2 separate regions of the Homo sapiens genome follow, and region 1 is linked to region 2. The links are contacts of gene promoters, found by promoter capture Hi-C in blood cells and fetal thymus (Javierre and others, 2016). All regions are on one chromosome and are shown on one strand. The core of a region is centred on a gene start or on the middle of the fragment in contact, and the rest is flanking DNA. Distances in the headings are between cores, read along the strand shown. Region 1 has its middle 17 kb from the start of LMBRD1. Region 2 holds the start of SMAP1 (small ArfGAP 1).

Region 1 (6,366 bases), core at 1,962-4,461, 850 kb after region 2:
ATTAAAATAATGTTATTAACATGATTTTATCTTCTTTTTAAGTTTCACTTGAATTTTTATTTGTTGTAAAGTTGTATAAGGCCTATAAAATTAAGGCATTCATCCATTGTTTTACATTTTTACTTATTTAAATAGCATCATGAAAATAAGTTGTCATTAGATTGCCCCAAAATGTTTTCCCATTTAAAAAGGACTAATTTATGTATTGCTCAAGTTAGAGAAACAATGGCTAATTGTGGAAGAGATGGAGGATTTTATTTATGTTTAATTCCAAAACACAGAGCTACTTCTCAAAAAGAAGGCAGTTAGGAAAAGAAGACCCAGATACTTAGCAAGATATTCGTGAGTGAGAAAGGTGTACTTGAAAAGGCAACAGAAAGACGGAAGCAGTGATGGGGGCACTGTTAAGCAGGAAGTGGTGCTTAGTGTGAAAAGCCAGCCTGTCTGTCTGTCAGGAAAGTTTTCTGGGAAGGAACCAGAGAGAGGGCAGTGAGAATTTTTTTCTCATCTGCAAGGCGGATCCAGGAGACAAGCTTTTAACTTTGTGGGGGCTCCTCCTCAAGAAAAAGAATGGAAAATTATGAATACAAAGTTAGACTCAAAAGTAAACTTTAATTTAGAATGAGAAAAACAGATTAGAAAATTTTAACAGATGCCGAATACCACAGACATCACAAAATCTAGAAAATAGCCTTCATTTTGGCTCCACACTTTCAAAAATAGACCTCTGGTCTTGCCTTTGTGTCATAGTGCACATCAAATTGGAATCATGGGCAATAAGAATATTCCTGAAAGCCATTGCTACACCTGGATGCCTAGCAATAATTTAACTAAACATGAGAGTAACTCCATGTAAATACATCCCACTCAACCTAAACTAAATGCATCCCTAACCCTACTTAACCTGAGCTGGAGCCTCAGAATGCCTGCAGCCACTCCAGTGATACTCATATGAGGCAAAATGTGAAAGTGAAAATGGAAAGAGACAGTGGTCTCAACAGACTGAAGCAAAAATACATTACTTACAAAAATTTACAAAAAAACCATAGGTCCATGGGAACACATTGCTAGGCCTTTTTTTCCACAGGACCATGGAAAACACCTGTGCAAGTGGATCATTGGCGCTGAAGCTCCATTAACATGATGGTAAATCTGCCCCTGCAGACATGTGAGAGAATATGAGAGTGAGGTCTAAAGAGAACTTAAAAGAAGTATAATTACTCTAATTACCCTTTGGTAATTTCTCATGGGCGTGAATCAAATCTCCCTTGCTTCTAATTATATTTTTATGCCCAACTGGTGTTTCTTTGAGTGTGAGTCCATGAGACTGGATTACAGGTAGCTCCAGAAACGTATAAGTTACAAGGTAATTAGGTAATAGTAAACAGATGATTGATTTGGGTACATGGTAATGGTAAAGACTGAATGGTTTTCAAGAAACTTGTGAAAACTTGTATTTGCACATCAGGAAAAAAAAAAAAATCTGGCCTGAAGAAAGATGAGTTGTAATCATCAGAAATGATGGGACAACTCTCTATCTTTCACGAAGCTCCATCTTCCCTTGAAAATTAAGCTTATTCTAGTACTGGTCAGATGTTAATTGACATACAGACTTAGCAAAGAAAAAGCTGTATGTGTGTGTGTGTGTGTGTGTGTGTGTGTGTGTGTGTGTGTGAGTTTGCTTAAAAGATATAAAAAGGAAATTTCTTGAGAGTTTTCCGTTGACAGATCAAAGTGAGTGACTGAAGCATAAGTCTCAGATCATTGATGTTTATTGAGCCAGCCTGAGGGTTCACCTGGTTAAAATGCAAGTCACAGATGCATTCTGTGATTGTGTTTTCCAAAGAGGTTCTCAGGAAGTTTAGTATTTACATATTTTCCTTTAAGAAAAGGGGCGGGCAGGTAGCAGTGAAATTAATGATTACATACTTGTAAGGTTTTTAGTTAGTGCCTAATAAATCTACATTTTACATAAGATAAGGTGAACATGTGAAGAAAAAGGGAATAGAGGAAGCAGACATCTCAGGCAAGGGTAAAAGAACAATTGATTTCATCTTGTCTTTGTTCTGTACCAGGAAAGATAAGCTAGTGATCAACATTATCAGTGTGGAGTCTTTTGAAAGGGCTAGTTTCTGTTTAGCCCTCAGAGTAGAAAGCCTAATGGTGGTTAGCAAGGGAGGGGGTTATAATGAGGCATGTCTGAACATCCATCCTGTCATGACTGTAAATTCAGCTTCCAAGATTTCTCTCGATTCCCCTTGGCCAAGAGAGATGTCCGTTCAGTCAGTTGGGGGCTTAGAATTTTTTATTTTTATTTCTCACTATCAAATTTAACTACCCAATCTGCATTCCATTTCAATATGAGAAAAGGCTTCTGTGAAATGACAATCCATCTAGAAAGTATGCATGTGGACATATGTTTATGTATTGAAAAAGTAATTTTAAAAGTCAAAATTTGATATCTTATTGGTGCTAGATTTTTTTTTCTAAGTTCTCATTTGTAGATATAGCATTGGCTTTTTATTTGGTACAATTCTTAAGCTGTATCAGCAAAAGGTTATCTATATGTGATGCTAAAAAATGAAATAGATACAGAGCCAACATTACTGAAGTCATTTGGTCTATCAATATTTGATTAAGTACATAACAGAGTAAAATAAAACAACCCAAAATTTAAATGAATAAACCTTCATTTCAAAATTAAATGGAAATACTAAAGGCCTATACAAATTTTGACATTGTTCCTTCTTGTTATTCAGGGCTAAACCTAGCCAGCAGTATTTTTTATAACATCAATTTATTCATATTTTTAAAATTAGAAACATCCTTTTAATAGGAAAGCTGTATTTTAATATAAAGCTGAAACATTATATACTTAGTTATTCTGCAAATAATTAGAATCTTTTTTGAACTATAGCTATCACTGGCTGTCTTCATTTTGCACAATACAAAATGAACAATAGACTTTAATTAAAACAAGGATATTCGGCCTTTTCTTATTTAGAAATATCAGTTTCTCATTAACTACTCAAAAATTGAAATAGCATTGTTTTTCCACTATTGCTAGAACATGAAGTATCTGTGAAAAACGCCCTCTTTGTCTTCACCAGCAGTCCTGTTTTCCTTGGTATTATTCTATTTAAACAAGTCTTTCCCCTTCTGCTGAGTGTCTTCCATTTGCTCCTCCAGATACACGTTCCATCCTTCTCCACTCTGCTCTGTGCCCCAGGAGGCTGATCATTATGTTTGCAATAAATAGGCTCCCTTGCCTTCTGTTTTCCTGTTAAGTACATTCAAAAAGAGTAACAGAGTATTTATCCCCTGGCTCCCTTCTTGAGGGACTGTAGGTGACAATGGCTACTAGAAAGCTCTTTCCTAAGTGTATAGGTCTTTTCAGATTCCAGTAACCTCCTTCTGAGACAGGGAGTGACCTTTCAGTGGTGGTAATGATTTCCTGTTTTGACAACTCTAGGGTTAGCTTCCCTTTTTCCTGCTCACATCTTTGTAAATAGTCCAATCATTGAACTCTTCTTCTGAATCACTTTTAGATGATTAAAAGTACACTTTTAGATGTACTACCCTCTGTTTCTTGCCAGAATCCTGACTGATTGACTCCTCCTTTTTTTCTGACTACCTCATGTCTTCGGAGTTCAAGTTGTTAAAAAAAAATGATCTGATAATCAAACTTAAATTCATGTGTTCAGTGAGACAAAGCAAGAACCTTTCTTAGGGGGCTGCTGCCTGCTCCCCTTGCCAAACATGGAAATAAAGAAAAATATTGAATTCCTTTAAGGGAACTTCCAGACACCTGGTTAGCCCTAAGAAGTAAATGAGCAACTTGATAAGCAAGAAGGCAAGAGTAGCTTAAAACTATAGCCAAGGGAATTAGAGTTCTGAGATGTTTGGTTTCCTTGTAACTGCTCAACGGATTCACCTTGCCCACTGCTTAGACAGAGACGATTTATGAAGAGAGGGGAACTGCAAGGCAGAACGACTAAGTCACACAGAGCCATCTGTGCAGGAGACTGGAGTTTTATTATTACTCAAATCAAATATCCTTGAGCATTTGAGGATCAGAGTTTTTAAAGATAATTTGGCAGGTAGGGGCTTGAGAAGTGGGGAGTGCTGATTGGTCAGGTTGGAGATGGAACCATAGGGGGTCGAAGTTGACTTTTTCTTGCTGTTTTCTGTTCATCTGGGTGAGATGGTAGAACTGGTTGAGCCAGATTACTGGTCTGGGTGGTGTCTGCTGATCCATCCAGTGCAGATTCTGCAAAATATCTCAAGCACTGATCTTAGGTTTGCAATAGTGATGTTATCCCCAGCAACTTGGAGCCAGAGGCTGCATGCCCCTAAACTGTAATTTCTAATCTTGTAGCTAATTTGTTAGTCCTGCAAAGGCAGACTGGTACCCAGGCAAGGAAGGGGTCTTTTCAGGAAAGGTCTATTATCAATTTTGTTTCAGAATCAAGCCATGAACTGAATTCCTTCTCAAAATTAGTTTGGCCTATCCTCAGGAATGAAGAAGGACAGCTTAAAGATTAGGAGCCAGATGGAATCAGTTAGGTGTGATTTCTGTCACTGTCATAATTTCCTCAGTTATAATTTTGCAAAGGCGGTTTCACCCTGTAGAAACTAAAGAGAACATCAGAATATATGTCCCTGAGTTGTTTCTTAGAAGCTGGTACCCCCACCAAATGGATTCCCTGGCATGTAGACCTCAAATAAGAGGTAATTGAGGACTGAACTCTTGCTTTAAATTTCTTCCTGAGGGGCATGGAGGAAGTCACGCCCACAGGCCAGACTTAATATTTCTTTCTTCTGATCCCAAATTTTTAAACAAAGCTTCTCTTCTTTAACCAATTGCAAGTCAGAAAATCTTTGAAATCCAGTTATGACCTGGAAGCACCCTGCCCCACCTGACTCTGCTTCCACCTTTGTAGGCCAAACCAATGTATCACCTCTATGTGTTGATTTATAGTTTTGCCTATAACTTCTGCTTTCCTGAAATTTACCTCTGCCTTTAAACACCCTTGCTTGCAAGCCATCTGGAAGTTTGGGTCTTACATTTCAGCTGCCCAATTATCCTTGCTTGGTACCCTACTAATAAAGGCCCTCCTTTCTCCTGCTGCAAAGCAACCTCGGTATGAATATTTGGCCTTACTGCACTGGGCAATGGGACCCCTGTTTGGTTTAGTAACATAAGAGTGGCCCACGCCTTTTCTACGTTTCTTAGAAATGAGTTCAAATCTGAGTCACTTCTGCAGAAATCACCATTGACCTTATCCTCTCTATTTAACTTTTTCATTATTCCACCCCTTTTTAGTCAAGCTTCCTGAAAGAATATTTTACATTCATGACCTCCGTTTTCCTAATTCTCCTTCATTCCTCTAAGCCAGTGCAACTTGTCTGCTTCCTATCCACTCCAGTGGAATTATTCTAGAAAATTCGTTAATGACCCCCCCACTCATGTTGCCATACTCGGTGGGCACTTGCTAGTCCTCTCACTATATTTGGTATTGACAGCTACTCATTAGTTTTAAAAAGTATCTTCTCTCTTTGTTTATATGATGTATTCTGATTATTAGTTCTAACCACTCTTTTCCTTTTATTCTCTCCTTAAAGTTTGCTGTTTTTTTAGGGTTGTCTATTTAGCTGACTATTATTCTCACTTCTACCAATTTTTCCTGGGAATTTTTTGCATTTTCATTGCTTCAGCTTTTACTTGAGTATAGATGACTCATACCTCTGTGGCAGGTCCCTTGGCTGAGTTTCCCGCCTATACATTCTATGAACTAGAGCTATCCGTGTTCCTCAGGCACCTCAAATCCAAGGTACCAAATAAAATCTACTACCTTGTTTCCTTCACTCTAAGGTGACATTGACTGTAAGATGCACCATCATTTTATAAATGATGAAGAACAAAATATACCAGTTATAGTGGTAAGATCCCATCAATTTAAAGGTGAGTCCTAACATCAGAGATGTTAAAATGTAAAGGAGAAAAGTGCATCTTAGAATCTATGAAATACAGTTTATTTCTGTCATTCCTCACCCTTAATCTTCTCTTCTTCGTATGTTCCCTGTCTTCATTAGTGGCATCATCATTCTCCACATCTCTCAATTTACAATTCTGAAAAGCATCTCTAATGTTAACTCGGCTTGGCTATAATAATCAACTATTCAAATGCTATGTGTTGCCGTGAAGGTATTTTGTAGACATGATAAATATCTACAATCAGTTGACTAAGTACAGTTGACCCCTGAATAAGTTAGGGGTTAGGGATGCTGAATCCCCATGCACTTGAAAATCTGCCTATAACTTTTGACTCTCCAAAAACTTAACTAGTAATAGCCTTCTATTGA
Region 2 (5,804 bases), core at 2,352-4,851:
ATTCTCTTGCCTCCGCCTCCCACGTAGGGATTACAGGTGCCTGCCACCATGCCTGGCTAATGGTTTTTGTATTTTTAGTGGAGACGGGGTTTCACTATGTTGGCCAGGCTGGTCTTGAATGCACTTTTAAAATCTCAGAAATATACATTAACAAGCATGGGACATGTCAATGTGGTACCTGCCAAGCCCAGCGATGTTTTCTAGGAGCCCTACTCAGCCAAGTTCAGGCTACTCCTGATGTCCAACACAAGATGCCCTATTCAGAGCATGTGAAAGAATAGAGAAGTGAAAAAAAAAAACAAAAATCAAAGCTAGAATTACCTGTAGATAACACTTTAAATACTGAAAACTAAACTTGAAGCTGGCAAGGCATTCCCAGTCCTCACTGCTCCCTAAAGTGCCACCAACTAATAACCAACAAGAGCTGCTTTAAACTCCCACTGAGTCATGAATGCAGCTAGGAGAGAGGAGGAGTAGTTCCATCTGCCTGTTCTTAAATTCTCCAGTTGTTCAACAGATTTGGTAAGAGCAGGATCAAGAGCAGGAAACTGGCGCCTATGCCATCCTTTTCTCCTTCGTTGCTTCCTAAATACTGTCAATCCAGGAAACACAGCTGGTGATTCAGTAAGAAAATGTCAAAACCCAATTGACATACCTCTACCAACTATGATAAGGCAAGATAATACAGGCACCTCAAATCCTAAGCTTTAGTTTTGGTACATATTCTCAAAGATCAGTGGAAGAAGCTTCTTTGAAAGAAAGAAAATTGAGTTAACTAGGAAATAACTTTGAAATACAGTACATGAAAAGTTTGATGCAATTTACTAGACAGTGAAGAAAACATCAATACATACACAGAATGAAACTTCTTAGTAACTGAGCTGTAGAGTAAGACCTTTAACATATCTTTTAAAAGTACTATATTTATTATGTCATCCTAGCATATAGATCCAAAATCATGTAACAAGCCAAGAATTCTACTAAAAAAGCCTCCATAATGTACTTCAACCTTACCAAATACTCAAAAACTGTGAAAATATATTTACATCAATTGCTCTATCATGTCGAATTTTTCAATTATTACAACCATGAAATCAAGTCTAATTAAATCAATAAGTGGCCTTACCTGTGATTTTTTGCCTGAAAGATCAAGATAAAACAATGAAATTATTTACAAGATCATTTTAATATTCTTCTAGATTTAGTAGCAACAAGAAAAAAATAATCCTTGTAAATTATACTGTGGAGTTCATGCCCTTCAAGCTGCACCCTTGTACTCTTGATACCATTCTCTTCTCTCCCACTTCCTTCACTTCTCAAAACAAGTAAACCAACAAAAGGCCAGACAAAACCAAAATACAAAAGACATTCATTCAATATATATCTACTGATTTCCGTGGCAATACAAACACTGAGCAAAACGAATACTTCCTATTCTTCAGGTCCAAAGAAGTAAAACTTTTGATCCTAATTTAAGAAGTACATGATTCTCTTCTCCCCACCTCAAAAGAGTAAATAAAAAAAAAAAAAGTTAACATGGTTAATAATGGCTTTTAAAAATCTGTATTATTTTAGAAAGCATTAGTGAAAATCTGATTTTATAAAGTACTTTTTTGGAGACAGAAATTTGAACAAAAATTAAATTATTTTTAATAAAGTCTGTAGATGAAGGAAGGTTAATTCTGAAACTGTTACTATTCGACTTTTAATGAACAGATTTAATATTTACCAGCATCTCTACTTAACCATGTTATTACTCAAAATGACAAAATGTGTACTATTTAGCTTCAGCTTCTTTCTTCTTCTTGGCCTTTTAAAGGACCATTTTTCAGTGTTTTGCTAGTGCAGTCAATGAGCAAGCAACTGAGCCTAAACACAGTGCAGAACTCCCAAATAACCACACACAATCAAGTTACTAGGAAAACAAGTATTACAAGAACCAGGCACGGACTTTGTAAAAACTCATCACCTGAAAAGGTTACATAGGATAAATATAATCTTGACTCAATCAAGTTACTATATTGAAAAGTGCTTCATAAAAATAATCTAGTTACAGTATTCCCGCATGATTCTTCTAGTAATTCAGTACCTGTTACGACAGTGAAGTAACCTGCTGATGCTGTGTGGCTCAGTCTAGTCAAATATTATCAGCCTACTGAAATGTGACTCATTTATATAGTATTGAGATAGAACAGTAAAGCTTCAGGAAAAGTCTAAGTCAAATAACACAGAAATCTTAAAGGACATTCCCCAAAGAGACTGTCTCCTGCTTTAGAGAACTACCCTATTTCTCACCCAATAACGAAATAAACCAATTAAAAATATACACGATCTTTTCTTAACTACACAAGACATTTCTTTAAAAAAAAAAGAAATATTTCCCTTGAGATTACTTACAAGACATTAAACATAAATCAGATCTCCAAACACAAAACATAGCAGCTAAAAATAGTATATCTGTTTCAAAGGCTGAGGCAGAAGCCCTCCAACCGAAAAAACTAAAATTAGGTTTTTTCCATCTCTAGATCTTTAAAATGAACCTTCAGCATTTATGAGGTACACAAATCAGTGTCCACATATTCTCCCAAACTAGCTGGTCAGAGAAAACCTAATTACTAAAATCTTCAGAAATACAAACCCACCGTCCTCCAAGAGACTCATGTAATGAAATTCCTCTTCATTCTGGCTAATAACCAGACTAAAAAACAATACTACTACTAATAAAGACCTTTCTCCAATTAATTTATTCCGTAAAACTCAAACCCACCGAAAAAGACCACCATACTCTTTTTCAGGAAGCAGAGATAAAAGCCTTGTACAAAAGCTGTCAGGTGGGCAGGCAGGTAGGGCTCCATCTAGGAGACCAAGAATCCGAGCCCGGAGTGGGAGGACGTGGTCACACCGGAGGGTAGAGGAGGGGATCCAGACCTAAGCGCGGCCCCACCCACAGAGATAGCTATGAGCAGAGCTAGGAGGGCAACTCTCTAACCCTAAGCTCTGCCCAGACCCGTGCCCGGTTCCGCGCTCCCAGCCTCGCTCCTACCCCCAGCCCTGTGGAGGGTCCGAGCATCGCTACCCTGGCACCTGCTCAAACCCGTGTCTGGGAGGAGGGGAGGCTGGGGCCACTGACAGGGCCTGCGGGCCTGACCTCGCCGCCGCCTCTGGCGGACTTGAGGGTCGACAGGAGCCCCGCGCCCGCCCGCTCAGCCACCCGCCCTCCAGTCAGGGCAGGAGCCGGCCAGCGAAGCCGAGGCGTCCGCTCGGGCCCCGAGCGCCGCAGCGGCGGGAAGGTCACCGGTCGCAAGAGGCCCCGACCGTGGGCAGCGACGACGTCCAAGCTACCTTTGGCCTCGCAGTCGGCGCAGTACTTGTTGTCCTCCTCCCTCAGAAGCTTGGATAGGATGAGCTGGTGCTGCTCGTTCAGCTTCTGAGCCTTCTCCCGACAGGAGCGCGTCGCCATCTCGGCAGCGGGGCGGGGAGCCTGGGGCAGCTACGGCGGCGGCGGACGCTGGCTGGAGCCGGGCAGAGTGAACGCACCTGGCGCCGCCGGGACCGCGGGCGGACTCAGCCCAGGAAGCGGCAGCGGCAGCTGGAACGGGAGGAGGGGCGGCGGCGGCGGTGGCGGTGGTAGCGCCGACGTGTCCCGCCTCCTTGACCGGCCTGCCGGCACGCACCACCCTAGCCGGCGAGGGGAGGGGGAGGGGGACTGGGTCGCGCCGAGGCTTCCGGGTGGCGCGGAGGAAGGAACCCGGGCGCCGAGCGCGCTGCGCATGCGCCGAACCTACGGGGCCCGGGCTGCCGAGTCTTTTTGCAAAAAGGCCTTCTGCCCAAGGTGATTCCCGAAAGGTAGCTGGCACTGCCTCATACGAGCTTTCCCCCCTTTTGAGATGTGATGGTCCGCAAGGGCCTCTAGTAAAACCCAGTAATGGAAGACCTTTTACAAGAAGCCTACTTTGACTTGCCCATTTGCCTTTGCTCTTGCTGGCACAACATTGGAAATGCAGAAATAACTAGCGACTGGGTGGGTTCATTTACTCATTCGAGGTTTATTCGCCTGCAGTTTAGAAGCTGGAGACACGGATGGAAGAAAAGAGGAAAAACGGTCTCTTACATTTTAAGGGCGAGAAATAATCTAGTAGTGACATGTATTAGGGGATAACATTTCATTGAGTGATTACTCTGTTAAACGAACTGTTAGCTCATTTAACCCTTTCCCCAACCTTATGATATTGTTATCCTCATTACACAGGGGAGGAAAGTGAGGCATAGAGGAGTTAAGTAACCTGACCAGATTACAGAACTACTAGTGGAGGAGTTGAGATTTAAATCCAAAGCAGTCTGGCTCCAGAGTCTGAAAGACCTGGCAGTAAGCCCTTCCATAAGGGGGAAAGTGTGACCAGGAACCCAAGTACTAGGCGGTGATACTTTAACAAGAAGCTGTGTAAATAGTGATCCTTAATGCAAGAGAAAGAGAACTAAAGAAAACACTTTTCATTGGAACCCAGACCCTAATCCAGGCTCATGAAGTTTGAACTCCGGGTGACGCAGTTTCGATGATTTGGCATGTTGTATATTATGAGGAAGTTCTAATATGGGGCTTATGCAAGCCAAATAAACACAGTCCTTGCCTGCGATGAAGCAGATGCTAAGAAAGGCAATGAGCAAGAGTCGGTCTTACACTTCTTAGTAAGGCCAATTTCTAGCCCCTGTCCCTGCATAAAAGTGACCCTCATTGCTACCTAGCCCTGTTCTTGGCACAGGGGCTCAAAAATGTTTCTGGAATTAAATTGAATGGATATGGCAATGAAGATGCTCAGTAATTAAACAAATTAGAGCTTATACTACATAGCTCTGACAAATAACTACTAGGGAGATATTGGTGAGTTCCAATGAACAGAAAAAAACATTATGTGGGAGGTAGAACTTACGAGCCTTGTCCTGAAGATACGCTGGATTTAGATGGGGACTGGGGAGGGAGATATTAAGAAAGAGCAGCTTGCACAAAAGCATGAAGACCTGAAGTACCTTGGAAAACAGACTGGAACAAAAGGTACTACTTTTGAGATAAGGCTGCATAAGTAAACTATGATAGGGTTATGGAAGACTTGGGAAGCCAGACAAAGTAGTCTGGCCTTGATGCAAATTGACAGTAGAAAACCTGTAGATTTTTGCCAGGCACAGTGGCTCACGCCTGTAATCCCAGCACTTTGGGAGGCCGAGGCAGGCGGATCACCTGAGGTGGGGAGTTCGAGACCATCCTGACCAACATGGAGAAACCCTGTCTCTACTGATAATACAAAATTAGCCGGGTGTAGTGGCGCATGCCTGTTTAATCCCAGCTACTCAGGAGACTGAGGCAGGAGAATCGCTTGAACCCGGGAGGCAGAGGTTGCAGTGAGCGGAGATCAGGCCATTGCACTCCAGCCTGGGCAACAAGAGCAAAACTCCTTCCCCACCCACCCCCCCCCCAAAAAAAGAAAAAGAAAACCTGTAGATTCTTCAAGTAGGATAATAGCATAATAAAAAGGATCTTTTGGGAAAGTTAGTCCTGCAGTAACCAGTAAACAAACACCATTTTTTGAGTACCTCTCCTCCCTACAAAAATTCTGTTCAGCACTGTGAGGACTCAGAAAAACAGAATACAGGTTTACCACCAAAAAACAACCTTCAGGATGGATTGAAGGGTCACAGCAATGTCCAGTACAAATACTTGCGTGCCACACGTATAACTTTAAATAATGCAGTAGCCACATTTAAAAACAGAAAAAGAAACATAAAATACATTTTACTAATACATTTGATTT

What was found. Contacts are between HindIII fragments. The CHiCAGO score rates a contact against its expected background, and 5 or more counts as called.
Region 1: a fragment that was not itself captured here is called in contact with the fragment with the promoter of SMAP1 in region 2 in 1 of 17 cell types (activated CD4 T cells); the score reaches 5.6 in activated CD4 T cells.

Annotation. Positions count from the first base shown.
Region 1 is chr6:69,810,811-69,817,176 of GRCh38, reverse strand. No RefSeq gene overlaps it. Among named protein-coding and RNA genes, the nearest start is that of LMBRD1, 17 kb to the right of the region's middle. RefSeq lists enhancers at 672-741, 852-1,171. The HindIII fragment of the contact is 3,272 bases long and covers 1,576-4,847 here.
Region 2 is chr6:70,665,680-70,671,483 of GRCh38, reverse strand. It overlaps SMAP1 (small ArfGAP 1), which reads right to left and starts at 3,601. Exons shown (of 11, transcript NM_001044305.3): 1 at 3,343-3,601. The coding sequence starts at 3,460. RefSeq lists silencers at 2,860-2,919, 3,040-3,269, 3,420-3,819. The HindIII fragment of the contact is 2,958 bases long and covers 3,394-5,804 here.